3 separate regions of the Homo sapiens genome follow, and all the other regions are linked to region 2. Evidence: promoter capture Hi-C in human tissues and cell types (Jung and others, 2019). All regions are on one chromosome and are shown on one strand. The core of a region is centred on a gene start or on the middle of the fragment in contact, and the rest is flanking DNA. Distances in the headings are between cores, read along the strand shown.

The links. The method cuts DNA at HindIII sites, captures the fragments that hold promoters and counts their contacts. A contact is called where the count stands out against the background at its distance.
Region 1: a contact is called between a fragment that was not itself captured here and the fragment with the promoter of C18orf32 in region 2, in 2 of the 25 tissues and cell types used here (dorsolateral prefrontal cortex and lymphoblastoid cells).
Region 3: a contact is called between a fragment that was not itself captured here and the fragment with the promoter of C18orf32 in region 2, in 1 of the 25 tissues and cell types used here (dorsolateral prefrontal cortex).

What each region holds. Positions count from the first base shown.
Region 1 is chr18:48,759,453-48,762,946 of GRCh38, reverse strand. CTIF (cap binding complex dependent translation initiation factor) reads right to left here. Exons shown (of 12, transcript NM_014772.3): 9 at 1,258-1,557. LOC107985147 (a long non-coding RNA gene) reads right to left here and starts at 1,251. Exons shown (of 2, transcript XR_001753444.2): 1 at 1-1,251. The HindIII fragment of the contact is 7,353 bases long and covers 1-3,494 here.
Region 2 is chr18:49,485,529-49,488,915 of GRCh38, reverse strand. C18orf32 (chromosome 18 open reading frame 32) reads left to right here and starts at 1,682. Exons shown (of 3, transcript NM_001035005.4): 1 at 1,682-1,873. The region is part of intron 5 of RPL17-C18orf32 (RPL17-C18orf32 readthrough); the gene reads left to right. RPL17 (ribosomal protein L17) reads left to right here. Exons shown (of 7, transcript NM_001035006.5): 7 at 350-435. The coding sequence ends at 397. MIR1539 (microRNA 1539) reads right to left here and starts at 1,543; the gene lies at 1,494-1,543. RefSeq lists an enhancer at 1,624-1,783 and a silencer at 1,824-1,953. The HindIII fragment of the contact is 6,566 bases long and covers 1,212-3,387 here.
Region 3 is chr18:48,910,292-48,913,930 of GRCh38, reverse strand. LOC124904355 (a long non-coding RNA gene) reads left to right here. Exons shown (of 3, transcript XR_007066464.1): 1 at 1-373; 2 at 2,280-2,427. Among named protein-coding and RNA genes, the nearest start is that of SMAD7, 39 kb to the left of the region's middle. The HindIII fragment of the contact is 9,089 bases long and covers 1-3,639 here.

The DNA.
Region 1 (3,494 bases), core at 466-2,965, 730 kb after region 2:
GCTGGCCAGGGAGGGCTCATGTTGCAGTGAGTGCAACTCACATGCAGAGGAGAGGGTGGGTGGGGATGGAGCCCTGCCGGCTGCATGTAGAGGTGGCCTTAGCGGCAACTTCCTCCCAGCTTTTAGGGAAGACGGCAGACTGCGAACCACATGGTTAAGGTGAGGGTGGCCATATGCCCTTGTTTACACCTGTTGTCTAGGCATAATTATGAACTGAACCCCCTTTGACTTTCACAAGTGTTGCAGTTTGGATGATCTATTGTATGGTCACCCTAGTTAAGATGGCCCTATAGCCTGCCATTCTACTTCATTACTTGGAAACTACCATTTTATCTCATCTGGACCAGAAACTCACTTTGTATCTTAACTAGTCTCTAAAATACAAAATAGGAGGAAAGGAGACATGGCTCTCCCCCAGCCAAGAGTCTCCAAGGACAGTCCCAGGACCTGATGTGGCCACCATCCCATGACCCTGCTATCTCTCCCTGACGTCACCAGTTTTGGGGCCACCAGCTCATCTGCTACTGCCCATACAGGCAAGCAGGTACTTGTGAGATGAAACATTGCTAAGCTCCGTCCAAGTGCACGCGCCTACTCCCACGACACACTCATGCTGATAGAACCACTGGACGTGGGCCTTCATGGAGGAAGCAATGATCAGGGGTGGGGTTACACTGTCAGAGGTGAAGGGATATTAAGAGGGAAAGAGCAAGGATGAAGACAGTCTTGCATCACCGTGACTTCCCTCTGCCCAGGAGCCATAGTGTGTTGGTAAACAGACTATCCCTTTTCTGCTCATGTGTGGCTTTACTCAAACCCATCTCACTACCAGTGATGATCAACTGCATATCTGCAAAGGTCTAAGGACCTAGCCCTGGGTGGAAGGAGGAGGAAAAGAGAAGTCCACAGCAAGTTCATGTCTGCTTGGATGTAGAGAGGTCAAAGCACATAGCCAGGTTGAGACCAAGAGCCAGCCTCTTATGAAAATAGAAAGTGGGAAAGGCTGGTTAAACATAAAGCACCTATAAAATTATATTGGTCCATTGTAACCAGGGAGCCCACACATAAACACACACAAATCCAGCCGCTCATTCCTGGCCCCTTAACTGCCTTTGTGTTTTCTATAATTAATCGGGCAAGGGCGGAACTTGGGAAAAGTCCAACTGTGGCCAGAACTCGCAGCCTTCTCGCTAGGAATAACTCACCGAACGCAGAGGGGCAGGGGGCGCGGGGCGGTGGTGGCCGGCGTCCAGTTACCTGCAGCATGTTGAGGAGCAGGCTCCGGAACTTGGTCCCCTCCACCATAAAGAGCGCCATCTTGTCGCAGAGCTTGGCAGCGGTGAAGGCGAAGCTGCGGTCGGACACAGCCTTCTGGTAGATTGTGCGCACGATCTCGCCCAGCATCTCCTCGGAGTTGGTGGAGTTCTGGGCCTCCTCCATGAAGGTGGTGAGCTTGGTGTCCACGTCGCTGCTGTTGTTCCGCATGCTGTTCAGGATCTCGATCAGCTTGTCCATCTTGTTCTGCTGGGGAGTGGTCGTCTCCACGGCCACTTCATCCTGGGGGTGTCGGAGACAAATGAATGTGCCTGAGTGAAGCCGAGGTCTCTGTGCAGGGGTGGCCTGGTGGAAAGAGGGTGGCCACCCCCAGAAAGCAGGACCAGGCCTACTTCCCTGGATCTGAGGGCTGGTCCCTCTGGGAACCTCCACCAAAGACCCCTCATGCGCCAAAAGCTCCTTGTTGCCTTTTTTCTTGGCCCCTATGACATCCAGGGCTGATACTGTTTTTGGGTTCTAGCTCCTACCCAGGATTCTCATATACATTGGCTTTTTTTGTTTATTTGTCCATCAAATATCTTAATCTAGAAAAGATTTAATGGAAATTATGAAAGAGGAAATAAGATAACAAATATGAAATCGGGCCAAAGAGAAAATGAGGGTAGGAAGACTTGGTCAGGAAGGCAGGTCAGATCCAAAATGCCTGCAGTGGTGGTTAAAAGCGGCCCAGGCAGTGGCCACCTTGTCCCCTACACCCTCAGCTCCAAATGCCCAATGATGACTTGTTCTCTGGGCATAGGGCCCCCTGTGGGCACAGCCCTGGCTTTTTGTCCTGTGGAGACTGTGCTGGTCTTCTGTAGACATATGCCACACACCAAGGAATCCTCCCATGTGCCACTAAAACAGTTGGGCTTCTAGGAGGGATATTACAAGTAAAAAGCCCTACAGCCTTATGAGATTTCACTGCAACTAGGACCAGACCAGGGGCTTGAAGAAGAAAAAAATGTCATCTTATTGTATTGACTCATTCTTGGTGGCCAAGAATGGGAACAACTTAACTGCAAGGAAGTGAGATCTGGCTGGAAGGGCAGGGTCAGGGTCATGAAATGAGATCCAAGCTTGGTCTTCTGTCCCTGACAATAGAAGCTCTGGCCTAGAAGGCACAGACCAAGGCTCTAGATCCCACTCTCTGCCTCTAGCTGTGTGGCTTTGGGTAAGTGATTTCACTCTCTGGGCCTCAGTTTCCTCATAGGTAACACAGTGAGGTTAGACGAGAAAATCTATAGCTTTCCTTGAGCCCTTCCATGGTGGGATCAAGTTCCAAGGGCAGCTAGTCTCTGGCTTGAGAACCAAACACTCAGGAGGCTGAGGCAGGAGAATGGCATGAACCCGGGAGGCGGAGCTTGCAGTGAGCCGAGATTGGGCCACTGCACTCCAGCCTGGGTGACAGAGCGAGACTCCATCTCAAAAAAAAAAAAAAAAAAAAGAAAGGGCTGAATCCTGGGTGAAGGAATAGGGTGGCCTAGTTCTTCTCCTCAAACCCAACCACCTCTTCAGGGAAGGCTACTCTGAGTCCCTGGGTAAAGTTAACAGGACACAAATCCCCACCCCAAGAGACATCTCACGCTTTACCTGTCTCTTGAAAGAGAGAAGGAAAGTGTTGCTCTCCCTGATGAAAATGTTTAGGATGTGGCTGGTTGGCCACCTAGGATTTACCCTTTTTTAGAGTGAGCAACTAGCAGAGTGGGGAGTGACCCAGCCTGAGCCTGAGCCCATGTCTTCTTGGTCCAGGAGTTCAGGAGGCCTCACCTGAGTGGAGTCCTTGAAACTGATCTATAGGTGCTATAGATCTACCTTCTCTGTTCCATTCCCCCATGTACCCCTCTCTTCCGACCATCTGGGCCCCAGGGCAGGAACAGTGGTCTGCATATAGAATAGGAATACCCACAAGAACATATCTGTACACGTTATTTCATTTAACCTTCACAGTCTCTCAGCAAGGTGTGTAGTATTAACACCCATTTTACAGATGAGTAACTGGGGCTCAGGGAGATTAGGTGACTTGCCCAAGACCACCCATCCAGTCAAAGGCAAAGTGAGGTCTGAGCCTGCTCAGCTGCGCTCTAAAGCCCGTGCTGTTTCCACTCTGCTGCCCTGCAGTTACATTTAGCAGAACTCTAGAGGACTCGGTGGAGAGGATACTGGGAGCAGCATCTCAT
Region 2 (3,387 bases), core at 433-2,932:
AAAAAAAAAAAACTGGTAGTTTTATATTCAGTACCTCAGGCCCGTATGATTATCTGCTGATGGCCCCACTTAGATGTACATAGCCACTTCAAAATGGGCCCTCTCCCCAAATCTAAGAAGCTTGTTTTCAGTAATTGATCACATTTAGTTCTTTTAAGTCAAGAACCTGAGTGATTCTGTACACTTCTTTTTACATCTAATGAACTTAAGTTCTGTTGATTTCTACCATTTAAGTATTTTTCCCCCTTAGTCCTTAACGACTAGGTTTCCTGCCTCCAGAATAAGCTGAAGTCCTCCAAGATGTACTGTGGTTTTCTCTAAGAAACTTAACACATTTTTCTTTCCCCAGATATCCCAGAAGAAACTGAAGAAACAAAAACTTATGGCACGGGAGTAAATTCAGCATTAAAATAAATGTAATTAAAAGGAAAAGAATGTTGGTTGTCTTTATTAGTGAACATATTTCAAGTGTCCTTACAAGATGGATCAAATGAGGATTTTTTAGGATTAGAACTAGAAACACAAGATTGTTTACCCTGCACCATTAAAAACCATTTTCATGGCTGGGCACAGTGGCTCATTTCTGTAGTCCCAGCACTTTGGGAGGTGGAGGCTGACTGCTTAAGCCCAGCCAGGGCAACATGTCAGAACCCTGTCTGTTAAAAAAAAGTAAGTGTGGTGTCACTTGCATGTAGTCCCAGCTAATTGGGGGGCTGAGGTGGGAGGCTGCAGTGAGCACTACTGCACCCCAGCGTGGGCAAGACAGAACAAGACCCTGTCTCAAAAAAAGTTTCATTATCCCAAAAGGAATTTGCAGTGGTTTTCTTTGCAGAACAATCCAGTATGTGAATATACCAGTTGATCATCCCCAGTTGGAAATGGCTCCATTGAGCATTGCCTTTGAGTATGATAACAGCACTCAGGCTCAGGTTTTGAAGCTTTTTAGGTTGATGCTCAACCTGTATCATTTCGTCAATTGATAAAGGGGTTTTGTTTTTGCTATTAGGAACGATGGTACTGTGAACGTTTGTGTGCAGATTTTTGTGTTTTCATTTATTGAGTATATACTAGAGTGGAATTGCTAGATCATAAGGTTACCTGAGTAAACATCTGAGGAACTTCCAAATATTTCCAAAAAGGCTGCACGCTACATTTCCACCAACGGTTTATGAGGGTCCCAGTTTTCACACAACTTCGCCAACACGTACTGACATCCTAGCGAGCGTCAGTACTTTTCGTTTATAAAGTGATGTAACTGCTTCTTTTAAGCAACTGACGTTTGTAAAGTTGGCCTTAATGTTAGTTTGCTCTGCCCTTGAATTTAAGAAACCAGCAAAACTAATAGCTTATCCACAGTTGCCTCAACGGCCTAGCTGCCACCTTCCGTGTGGGTGCCGCGCCGTTTGCACAGGCATCATCCTTTACCGAGATCCTGCGTTCTGGGTCTGGGTGTAGTCAGGTCAGGCTTTCTTCCCGCAGCGAAGCTTTTAGTTGGGCATCTGGGACGCGCAGGACTTTCGCGCTACCTGCAGGCCGCAGAGCCGGAAGCCTCGCCGCGCCCCTTGGGCAACACTGCTGCGTGCTGTGCGACCCCGGGTTGACGCAAGCGCGCCTTTGTCGTCCCCGTTGAAGGCGCCCATTGGCTCGGCTGCGGATCGTCCCTCCCTCCGGAAGTGCGGACATTGTCAGCTGCGTTTCCGCGGTCGCGGGTGAGTGTGCCCGGGCTAGCGGCCTGGGTTGGGCTTTGTAGCTGCTCCGCAGGCCCAGCCCGGGCCGCGCTCGCAGAGTCCTAGGCGGTGCGCGGCCTCCTGCCTCCTCCCTCCTCGGCGGTCGCGGCCCGCCGGCCTCCGCGGTGCCTGCCTTCGCTCTCAGGGTACCTTCCTTCCGCGAGCGCGCTCCTCCGCCCTCCGCCCCGCCCTCCCCTCCCCTCTGTCTGTATTCTTTGTCCACCACCGGCGCCCTCGGAGCTTGCATTTGCCTCTCCGATACTTTATATTGATTTTGTTCTTTTCCGTGGCCAAGTATCGGTTTCACATCCTTTCTATGACCTTCACCGTTAGGCCTCTGTTCTCGTCTCTTTTCAATCATTGTCATTGACTCAACCTGTCCCCGCTCCCTCTGTCTCCACTAAGATGACATGCTCAACTGGATGACTTGGAGGAAGGTGACTTTCCCTGTTATGCCTTCCCTATTTCGGATGGAGCCTCAGACTTTAACTGTCTACTCTGTTGTCTGGACTTAAGTTGAGTGAAAGAAGATTCCTCTGCAACAGCTTTAATCCGTTTTGCTCGCTTTGTTGGCTTGGAGCGAATAATTAAAATAATAATATCTCGTAGCCACCTTCTAGACTTTTCTGACCCAGTTTCCATATGTGTGAAGTAAAATATCTTACCGAAGTATTATTATGAAGATTAAAAGATAAGATACAAATAGGCTTCATTCCGAAGAGAGCTAAAAAGTCTCTTAAAAGCCGTAATTGTGGCGTAAGTGATTAGTAGTATTTGTCCTCGAGAGTTTATGTACATCGTACTGTGTGCGAACTTACTTAAAACACAATTGCAGAAGTAAAAATGAATCTTTATGATGGAGGGCCTGTCAGTCACTAAACTAGTACTGGTAGCATTGTCAGTTGTTTTGAAGGGGTTTCGTTGGTTTGGAAAGTTTGGTAAAAGTTTGGTAAAAACATGACCATTGTGTTTTTGGAAGAGGAAAAGGCAAGAGCATTGAGGAAAACCAGAACTGGAAATAATGGTCTTAGAAGCTCTAGTTACCAGTTACCTCTGTGAGAACTTTGGACAGGTTACAACTTTTGGATTTTTTTTTTTTTTTAATCTTGAGACAGGGTCTGCCTCTGTGGCCCAGGCTGGAGTCCAGTGGGCCATCATAGCTCACGGCAGTTTCGGCTTTCCTGGGCGCAAGCGGTTCTCTCCTTCCTCAGCTCCCCAAATACCTGGGACTACAGGCGCGTGCCATCACACCTTGCTAATTATTTAAAAAAAAAAATTAGGCCAGGTTCCAGTAATCCCAGCACTTTGGGAGGCCTAGGCGGGAGGATCATTTGAGCTTAGGACTTTAAGATCAGCATGGGCAACACAGTGAGACCTCATCTCTACTAAGAATTAAAAAATCTGTCGGGCATCGTGGCGCAGGGCTGTGGTCCTACCTACTCAGGAGGCTGAGGAAGGGGGATAGCTTGATTCTGGGAAGTCAAGGCTGCAGTGAACTCTGAACACAGGTGGTATGTTTGAGCCACTGCACTTTAGCCTGAGCAACAGAGCAAGACCCTGTCTCAAAAAAAAAAAAATCACTATTGCCCCAGCAATTGATTTTATTTTATTTTATTTTTATTTTTTTTTTTTCTGACACGGAGTTTTGCTCTTGTCACGC
Region 3 (3,639 bases), core at 473-2,972, 580 kb after region 2:
TCCCTTGCAGTTTGTTTGGGACCATGTGACCAGTTCTGGCCAATGGGCTGTGAGAAGTGCCATGTGTCACTTCCAAGCTAAAGCATTGAAAAATTGGTGCAGGGTGACCCAGCTCTCTCTCTCTCTCTCTCTCTCTCTCTGCCACAGGGACCTGGAAGATATGTTTTAGGATGATGGAGACAGAAGATGGAAAAGCGTTCGGATCCTGAATGGCTGCTCTGGAGAGCCCCTGGGCCCGCTGCAGACTTTGTTTGAATGTGGAACTTTTTCTTTGTGGCTGAGATTTGGAGGTTTGCCTATCCAGATGATTATGTGACCTGTGCCCCACACTCAGTCCCTTGCAGAATCTGGCTTGCTTCTTTCTTTTATGGAGGTGGGTCTTGTATCTCCAGCGTCTGGGAGCTCCTTGAGGTCAGGCACGAGCCCAGCCCTCATGCTTACTTGAATCCTTTCACAGTCACAGTACAAAGCCCAGCACTGGGCTCGTAGTAGGTGATGAGTAAATACCTGCTGTAATTGGCATGAAGTGCCTCTCCAGTGGTGCCCCATGAGGGACTGCCACCAGGTGTCCTCCAAGGGCACAGTCTCCCACCTGGTCCAGGGCTCCTCTCTGATGAAACCCTGCCCTTGCCTGCTCCTCAGCTACGTAGTCTTTGAAACGGCTCTTCACCTTCTCCTCAACCTCATCTGGTTGAGGCCAGGGGCCACTTTAACCTGGCCAAAGCCAGTACCCTCTGGGCAAGGAGAGAGAGGCTCAGAGCAGAGCTCCGGCTCCAGTGAACACATTGATTAGAGTCATCAGACCACGTTCCCAGCTCCTCTTGCCTATCCTGCTTGATTTTTCTTCATATTGGTGGTTGACATTATACTTACTGTATTATATACACATTTGCCTTTTTTTTTTTTTTTGAGACAGAGTTTTGCTCTTGTTGCCCAGGCTGGAGTGCAATGGCATGATCTCAGCTTACTGCAACCTCCGCCTCCCAGGTTCAAGTGATTCTCCTGTCTCAGCCTCCGGAGTAGCCGGGACTACAGGCGCACACCACCATGCCTGGCTAATTTTGTATTTTTAGTAGAGATGGGGTTTCACCAGGTTGGCCAGGCTGGTCTCGATCTCTTGACCTCATGATCCGCCTGCCTTGGCCTCCCAAAGTGCTGGGATTACAGGTGTGAGCCACCGTGCCTGGCCTATGTTTGACATTTTATTATATATCTGTTTGTTGGCTTGACTATTATCAGAGGCCCCTAGTAGAGTGTGAGCTCTGTGACAGCAGGGACTTTGCTCTGGTCACTGCCATAACCCCAGAATCTAGAACAATGCCCAGCACATAGAAGGGATAGAAGGCACTCAACCGATATTGGATGGATCAATGTTGAATGACTATTTAACTTTTCAACTAAAATATATGAATTTAAGTTCCAGGTGAATTCCTTTTTTTTATCTTTTTTCTTTTTTTTTAGAGACAGGGTCTCTGTTGCTCAGGCTGTAGTGCAGTGGCATGATCATAGCCTTGAACTCCTGGGCTCAAATGATCTTCCTGCCCTCAGCCTCCCAAATAGCTGGAACTAAAGGTGAGCACCACCCTGCCTGGCTAATTTTTTAATTTTTTTGTTGAGACGGAGACTCGCTACATTGCCCAGGCTGGTTTCCAACTGCTGGTCTCTAGTGATCCTCCTGCCTTGCTGGGATTATAGGAATGAGCCACTGTGCTCAGCCAAATTCCCTTTTCCCCAAGAAAAGTGGGTATGGGACCAGGTGCAGTGGCTCACGCCTGTAATCCTAGCACTTTGGGAAGCCGAGGTGGGCGGCTTGCCTGAGCTCAGGAGTTTGAAACCAGCCTAGGCAACATGGTGAAACCCAGCCTCTATTAAAAATTAGCTGGTGTGCACCTGTAGTCCCAAATACTCGGGAAGCTGAGGCAGGAGAATTGCTTGAACCTGGGAGGCAGAGGCTTCAGTGAGCGAGATTGCACCACTGCACTCCAGCTTAGGGGACAGAGCGAGACTCCATCTCCAAAAAAAAAAAAGAAAAGAAAAGTGGGTATGTACTTACTTTATAACACTAGTGAAAATAAAAAGCACATTATTATATTCTTTTCTCCCAAAAGGTGAATGCAAAACTTTACCTCTTAGGGTGGTGGTAATAGCGACAACTACACCCACAATAATAATAACAAAAACCTGCGTTTACTTAGGGCTAAGTATGTGCCAGGCACTCTCTGCAAGGTACTTTTTTTTTTTGTTTTTTTTTTTGAGACAGTTTCACTCTTGTCACCCAGGCTGAAGTACAGTGGCATGATGGCATGATCTCTGCTCACTGCAACCTCCGCCTCCCAGACTCAAGCAATTCTCGTGCCTCAGCCTCCCGAGTAGCTGGGATTACAGGCGTGAGCCACCGCGCCTGGCCTACGTTGTGTTGTCTTTAAGGTAAGCGCTCTCATTAGCTCATTTTACAGGTGAAGACTTGCAGGCCCAGCGAGAGACTCACAGCAAAAGCGTGGTAGAACCGAAGCCCAGGTCTGCCTAACTCCACAGCCCTTGCTCTGAGCCCTGGGTCTCCAGGGGAGCCTAGAGACACCAGCAGCCTTGAAAGAGTAGTTTTCCCAGCTTCTGTTCCTTAAGGTCGAGACAGAAACACGCTAAGGCCTGATCCCACTGAGGCAGCTCGAGACTCTGGGGGTCTCTCTGCAGGAAGGGCTTGCTCCTTGGCCAAGCTGTCCTGTCCCAACCGGGGCTGTAATGTTCACTGTGTATGGGCGTCGTGTCATCAGCACCAAATCTTCTAATGACACACTGCAGCCAGGGAAATTACAGTGCCCGGGAGACTTGTCCCAGAGGCCCTGCCCGAGGTAATTCCAGAGCAGGAGCGCATGCTGGGAAATAACAAGAATGACAGAGTCTGGCTGCCAGCCTTAGATAATGGAATGGTGAGTGATTTTATTTTACTTATACAGATCTTTTTCTTGAATTTTAAAAATATTGAAAAATGGTATCAAAAGTAAAAATTAGCGCTAACCTCATCATTTAAATTATGCCCTCCAACTTCACTCCCCAGAGGTGAGCATGCTGGAGACTCAGATATGTCCCCTTTCTGAATTGGCTTCTGCCTCTACATATGCACATATACAATTCTCACCAATGGAGTCACATTCTACATATCAGCCTGCGCCCTGCTTATGTCACTTAATGATACATCACAGACATTTTTGGAGATTATTCATTTTCATGGTTGTCTAGTAGTGGAGCAGAATTTAAAAGATGCTAGTGTTCATTTAAAGATATGCTACTTAGTACTGAATGGGAGTGAGGACGTGGTGCAACAGGAACTCTTGTGTGATGATGCTGGGGGTATAAACTGGTTAACTTTTTGGCAGTATCTACCAAAGCTAAAGAGAATCATACCTGCATCAGAAATGCACACATATATTCACTAAAATATATGTGTCTTTTAGTGAATATATTCTTGAACATGTACAAGAATACTCACAGCAGGCCGGGTACAGTGGCTCACACCTGTAATCGCAGCACTTTGGGGGGCCTAGGCAGGCAGATCACTTGAGTTCGGGAGTTTGAGACCAGCCTGGCCAATATGGTGAAACCCCACCTCTACTAAAGAAAATGCAAACATTAGTCTGGCAT